Regions from separate parts of the Homo sapiens genome. Here region 2 is linked to region 1. The links are contacts of gene promoters, found by promoter capture Hi-C in human tissues and cell types (Jung and others, 2019). All regions are on one chromosome and are shown on one strand. Each heading gives the region's core, a stretch centred on a gene start or on the middle of the fragment in contact. The rest is flanking DNA. Distances are from core to core; before and after follow the strand shown. Region 1 holds the start of MYH11 (myosin heavy chain 11). Region 2 overlaps MYH11 (myosin heavy chain 11).

Evidence for each region. Contacts are between HindIII fragments. The study calls those that stand out against the background at their distance.
Region 2: a contact is called between a fragment that was not itself captured here and the fragment with the promoter of MYH11 in region 1, in 1 of the 25 tissues and cell types used here (IMR-90 fibroblasts).

Annotation. Positions count from the first base shown.
Region 1 is chr16:15,855,533-15,859,084 of GRCh38, reverse strand. It overlaps MYH11 (myosin heavy chain 11), which reads left to right and starts at 2,057. Exons shown (of 41, transcript NM_002474.3): 1 at 2,057-2,144. RefSeq lists an enhancer at 510-1,011. The HindIII fragment of the contact is 11,295 bases long and covers 1-3,552 here.
Region 2 is chr16:15,726,250-15,729,471 of GRCh38, reverse strand. MYH11 (myosin heavy chain 11) reads left to right here. Exons shown (of 41, transcript NM_002474.3): 28 at 2,418-2,624. It overlaps NDE1 (nudE neurodevelopment protein 1), which reads right to left. Exons shown (of 9, transcript NM_017668.3): 9 at 3,119-3,222. Among named protein-coding and RNA genes, the nearest start is that of NDE1, 78 kb to the right of the region's middle. The HindIII fragment of the contact is 9,950 bases long and covers 1-3,222 here.

The DNA of each region.
Region 1 (3,552 bases), core at 808-3,307:
ATCTTACAGGTAGGGAAATTGAGGCATGGAGAGGCAAAGTTACTTGCCCATGGTCATATAGGTAGAAAGCAGCACTGGCAGATTCAAAGCCAGACATCTACTCTCAGATACACGCCCTGGGCCTCAAGGCCAGTTTGCCTGGGCATTTCCCTTTAATGTCTCCTCTCTGGAAGTGAATGGTGTCATCAGAAAGGTTCCAGTGCCAGCACCAATCAATGACTGTCCCAGTGAGAGCTTGGTCAAATCCCTTTACCCCTGCAGGGACTCAATTTTCTCACCTGCAAAATGGGGGTATTAATAAAGCCACCCCCCGCACCCCCGGCCCCCAGCCCCTCCACCTGGTTGCAAGAGGAGTGGTTGTAGACTAAGGGCCTGCGTCAAGTACAGAACCCAGGAGGGGTCTGCCCAACTTTAACCCTCTCTCCAAATCCTCTAGCCTGAAGCAGCAGAAACCCACGTGGGACTGGGGGCTGCCCCCTTCCGGGCCTTCCCCAAGCAGAGGGGTCCCCATCTAGCCCCGCGGGGCAACGGCGGCCGGTGGCTGCGTGAAGGGCCCCCTCCCCCGACGCCGGGGAGCAGGAAGGCCACTCGGCACCATATTTAGTCAGGGGGAGCCGGCAGCCCAGAGCTGGTATGCGGCGCTGGGAATTCCTGCAGGAAGGAGTCCGCGCCTGCCCTTTTTGGGTTGTCTCCCGCCCGCCGCTCCCGCCGCTCCCGGGGAGGGGGACCGGCCCGGCCCGGCCCGGCCCGGGAACCTCGGAGGAGCTGGTGCCGCGCGGGGAGCGGAGCGCCCGGGCTGCCCGCGGGTCCCCGGCCTGGCGCGGGGCCAGCCCACCGCCTCGACTTCCTTTTATGGCCTGTGTGTGCGTGCGTGGACAGGAGCGGGGAGGGAGGGACGGGGAGAAGACGGAGAGCCTGGGGAAGAGAGAGAGAGAAAGCGCAGAGATAGGAGTGAGACACGCGGGAGAGATGGAGAGCAAGAGACACAGAGACCAGAGACAAAGTGAGACAGGAGGGAGAGACAGATACATCGACAGATCTAGAGAAGCGAGAGGGACAGAGACAAAAGATAGAGCGAGAGACAGCAATGATCAGAGTGACAGACATGCAGAGACAGTGGCAGAGACAGAGCGAGAGAGCCTGTGATGGAGAGAGACAGGGAATGCAATTTTAGGCGAGGAATCCTTGGGGAAGGGAAGTTGTTGAAGGGAACTCGCAGACTCTGGGGGCACACCCACTTTCTCCTTGGATCTTGACACTTGCATCTTGTAAATAACGTAATTATCACCGCCACCGCCTTCCCCCATTTTGTAGCTATGGACACCAAGTCTCAGAGAAGTGAAGTGACTTGCCCAAGGTCACGCAGCTGGCGAGTGGCGCACAGGGGAGGGGGACAGCTGAAATAATCACAGTGGGCTTATTTTTAATTTTTATTTGTATTTTGGTCGTGGTGATGTGGGTGGAGGTGGAGATGGCAAGTTGGGAAAAGTAAAAACTTCCCCTTCCTGCACGGTTCCCAGCAAGGGTGGGGGCCTCCTGTCTTGCACTTTGCAAAGTTCAAGAAATCCCCTTTCCCTACCCTTCACGCTGCACAGCCGGCCCTCTTTCCAGACAGTGCGATGCCAATAAAATGGGAAGTGGGGTGGGAGATGTCAAGTCAGATCCACCACAGCCCCGACACGGGGAGGAAGAGGTTAAAGCCTTTGCGGCCGGAACCGACTCAGGGAAGACGTTCTCAAGCATCCCGCACAGACACTGCCTGCTCGACCCCCTTTCTCTAGGGATCCGGAGCGTCTGCGACCGCCTGGGGCCGGGGCTGAGACTCCCGTCCCTGTGCGCACCTGTTCCGTGCGCCCTTGTGCGGTGCGCACCTGTTCCGTGCACCCTTGTCCCGAGCGCCCCAGCTCCTTGCGCTCCCGCCGGGGGTGCGCCCTGCAGGGGGCGCGGCGAGGGGGCCGCGAGGGACCCTCCCCAACTCCACCCCTTCGGCCTCCTCCCCTTTCCCAGCCGCGGGCAGCTCCGGGTCTATAAAGAGAGGCGTCCGAGGACGCGCAGGGAGATTTGGACGCTCCGGCCTGGGAGGTGCGTCAGATCCGAGCTCGCCATCCAGTTTCCTCTCCACTAGTCCCCCCAGTTGGAGATCTGTAAGTAGTAGTTGTCATTCTGGGGGCAGATTGCAGGGCAGGGGGGTGTTAAAAGTCCTATAGGGTATTCTATAGGGGCTGGGGTGCACTTAGGGGTCCCTGTTGTCAACCTCGTAAGGGCCATGGTGGGGGCAGAGTTGTGATTTGGATCTCTCTCTGCCTTATCGTCTTAGATTATCCTAGACTTTCCCCAAACAGCATTTCTTAAGATTGCCAGTGAGAAGTACCATTTTGGGGGTGCTTATTAACGATATCAATGCCTGGACCCAACTCCATTTCCCAACTCTAGAATCCCCAGAAAAACTGCCTTAAAAAAAAAAAAATTAGTCCCGAGTGATTCTTGTTAAGAGGCTAATCCAGGAGATATGCTCCCTTGGAAATCTCAGAGGTCCGGTGCAGACAATCAAGGCATCTCACTTTTATTCTAGGCACCAAAAAATTTACAGCTGAACTTCACTGAAAAGTCACTTGCTATCACACAGAAGGGCAAAGTGAGGCTCCTTGTGGATTTGACCGTATTGCACAGTTGTGTTGATAATGCATTAAATCAGTTAAAAACACATGGGCATAGGCTTAGCAGAAAGGAGTGTTGTTGTTTTTTTTTTTTAATCAGTTTAGGGGAGGTTCTTCTATGTTGAGAACCCCTGGGAGATAAGGCTGGTTGTGATCTAGTTTGTTACAGCCCACTTTTTCCTCTTCTCCAAATTAAAAAAAAAAAAAACAACTCACCCAGGTTGACCCCAAAGGGCCCCCAGATACCCAGGTGGGCTCCAAAGTCTCCATTTGCTTCCACGATCTGCAGGTGCGTTAGGTAAGATTACACTAGAATTTCCCGCAGAGCCACCTGTGTCAATGCCACTCTCGTGCCCAACCAAATGGGTAAAACGAGAGAAAGTGTGGCTACTGCCTGTTGTAAGTTTTCTTCCAGCACAGGGTCTGGTAGGGATTTTGCCACTTGAGAAAAGGTACCATCCAAAGCCATGCTTGTCAAGAAGTAAAAGAAAATATTTAGAAACCCAAGGTGGGAGTGTTTAGTTGCAGTATGAAGAACTGAGAGATTAAATGGTGAACTGTCCGTCCGGGGTTTGGCAAAAAGAATGCAGGCTATTAATAAACTGCTTTGCATAGTTTTTTGTTTCTTTGATTTACTCAACGATACTATTTTAGAATTGTTCAGAGACGGAACTTGACGCTGAACTGAAAGTCATTAGGTGGCAGGGTGTGAAATAAGATAGAGAATTTTGTTTGAAGGAAATTGATGTTTTCCCTTTGAGATAGCTACCGTTGATGGAACACTTCAGTGCCACATGCTGTTGCAACATTTAACTTAATTTATCTCATTTAATCTTTGCAACAACTTCATAAGAAAGGCTTTATGATGCCTGTTTAGTATACAAGGCAGCTGAGG
Region 2 (3,222 bases), core at 525-3,024, 130 kb after region 1:
TAGAAGCCAAGCCCATTCCCAGCCAGGCCTCTTTGGGAAGACGCAGTTATTAAGACCACCAGCAGACGGCATGTCCATTACTGACCCGCACAAAGCAGGTAGAGGTGCAAACCTCTGCCCATCTCAGGTGCAGGGAAACAGAGGCCTTTGCCTCTAACAACTTGAATTCTGATGTAGAGACCTGGTTCCATCTGCTTGTGGGGGAAACGTTTAACATCAGCTCCTACCTGGGCTCCCCAGGCCCTCGTGCGGTTTGGCCCCAGTTCTGGGGTCTTAGGCTGGGCTAAGGTTTCTGGGAGCCCATGTCCCCTAGGGTCCCCGCTTCACTGCTTTGTTACCACCAAGAGACTCCCTGTCCCCATCTGAGGTCTGGCAGCTCTTAGTCATGTCTTGGAGGGAGGACGGGCATCCAGGGCTGACCGGTCAACGTCCAGCACCTCCCAGGGACTATGGGAAGACTGAGTGGTGGGTCTCGTCCTCTCGGGATACTTGCGCTTCTCTTTCCCCTTCTCTACAACCTGGAAAGAAGCCCCTCACCGCGTCCTACTTTTGCCCAACACGCTTTTTTTTTTGAGACAAAGTCTCACTCTGTCGCCCAGGCTGGAGTGCACTGGCGGGATCTCGGCTCACTGCAACCCCCGCCTCCTGGGTTCAGGCAATTCTCCTGCTTCAGCCTCCTCAGCAGCTGGGATTACAGGTGACTGCCACCATGCCCGGCTAATTTTTATATTTTTAGTAGAGACGGGGTTTCACCATGTTGGCCAGGCTGGTCTCAAACTCCTGACCTCAAGTGACCTGCCTGCATAGGCCTCCCAAAGTGCTGGGATTCTAGGCCTGAGCCACCGCGCCTGGCCCCAACACACTTTTTTTTTCCTGTAGGGCAACTCACATGCCTACAGGAGCTGGTTCCATAAAATAAGTTTCCCTTAACTAGGACAGAAGTAGCAGTGTCAATCACACGACACCTGTGAAGGACGGGGGCGGTGAAAGGTGACTGCCCCACCTGCAGAGCCAGCCGCTACTTAGATGTGGCAGATTGTTGCCTTGAAGGAAAGCAAGACCCTCTGTTTCCAGATCTTTCGTTGTTGTTGGTTTTTTGTTTTTGTTTTTAAGTTTAGGATTACTGAGGCATATGTAGTAAAATTTATCCATTTTACTGCTCCATTAATTTTAACAAATGTGTATTGTGTAACTACCACCACCACAGTCACCACATAGAATGTTAGTTATTGATTGATTGATTGAGATGGAGTCTCACTCTGTTACCCAGGCTGGAATGCAGTGGCATGATCTTGGTTCACTGCAACCTCCACCTCCCAGGTTCAAGCAATACTTGTGCCTTAGCCACCCCAGTAGCTGGGACTACAGGCGTGCGCCACCATGCCCGGCTAATTTTTCCATTTTTAGTAGAGATGCAGTTTCGCCATGTTGGCCAGGCTGGTCTCGAACTCCTCACCTCAAGTGATCCACCTGCCTTGGCCTCCCAAAGCTACTTATTTCTGAAACAGGGTCTCACTTTGTTGCCCAGGCTGGAGTGCAGTGGTGTGATCATAGCTCACTGCAGCCTCCAATTCCTGGGCTCAAGCAAGCCTGCCATCCGCCTCCTGAGTAGCTGGGATTGCTGGTGTGTGCCCCCCACACCCAGCTAATGTTTTATTTTAGTAGAGATGGGGGTCTCACTACATTGCCCAGGCTGGTCTTGTACTCCTGGCCTTAAGCGATCCTTCTGCCTGCTTCCCAAAGTGCTGGGGATGACAAGTATGAGCTGCCATGGCATGCCTTCAAACATTAAAGTTTTTTGAAAAAGAAGCTGGGAATCCAGATTTTTATGTGACATTTATTAAAATGTCGGCAACTCATTTTTTTAAAAGTAGTGAAAGGGTCAAAGGGGACATGTCAGCAGGTTGGATACCGCTTGTGGGATTCCAGATTGCAACCCATGAGCTTTAGGAAAATAGAATCCAAAATATCAGCTGGGTGCGGCAGCTCACGCCTGTAATCCCAGCACTTAGGGAGGCCAAGATGGGTGGATCACTTGAGGTCAGGAGTTCGAGAGCAGCCTGGCTAACATGGTGAAACCTCGTCTCTACTAAAAATACAAAAATTAGTCGGGCATGGTGGCGGGCGCCTGTAATCCCAGCTACTTGGGCAGCTGAGGCAGGAGAATAGTTTGAACCTGGGAGGCGGAGGTTGCAGTGAGCCAAGATTGTGCCACGGCACTCCAGCCTGGGTAACAGAGTTAAGACTCCATCTCAAAAAAAAAATAACAACAAAAAAACCCCAAATCTCTTACTGGTGATTGTGTGCCCCCTGTTGTGTGCCTTCCTGGACCTCTCTGAGGGAGGAAAGGGCAGGGCCTGAAACGTTCTCCCGGCCACAGCCTCCCTGTTATCCCTCCCCTCTGCTTCCTTCGCCAGGCCAAGGCGAACCTAGACAAGAATAAGCAGACGCTGGAGAAAGAGAACGCAGACCTGGCCGGGGAGCTGCGGGTCCTGGGCCAGGCCAAGCAGGAGGTGGAACATAAGAAGAAGAAGCTGGAGGCGCAGGTGCAGGAGCTGCAGTCCAAGTGCAGCGATGGGGAGCGGGCCCGGGCGGAGCTCAATGACAAAGTCCACAAGCTGCAGGTGAGGAGGTGGCGCGGTGGTGTGGTGGGCAGTGCTGGGTGGTGCCCAGTTCTGTGGGGAGGAGCCTCTTCCCGGCTCGCTGAGGTCTCTCTTGCTGCAAGGCAAGTCCTTTCCTCTAGTTGCGTTCCTGGAGGAGAGGCGATGATCTCCCTGTTCAATTAAATATTAAAAAAACCTTCTGGCCAGGCACGGTGGCTCATGCCTGTAATCCCAGCACTTTGGGAGACAGAGGTGGGTGGATCACCTGAGGTCAGGGGTTTGAGACCAGTCTGGCCAACATGGTGAAAAGTCTCTACTAAAAATACAAAAATTAGCCAGGCGTGGTCGTGGGCACCTGTAGTCCCATCTACTCGGGAGGCTGAGGCAGGAGAATAGCTTGAACCCAGGAGGCAGAGGTTGCAGTGTGCGGAGACCGCACCATTGTACTCCAGCCTGGGCTAAAAGGGCAAAACTCTGTCTCAGGAAAAAAAAAAAAAAAGAAAAAAAACCCTTCCTTTTCCAATTTGATAAGTATTTATTGAGCACCTGCTGTATGCCAGGCACTGTGCTTAATCCTGAGATCCAACAGCAAGGAAGAAGAGACACTGTCGCTGCCCCA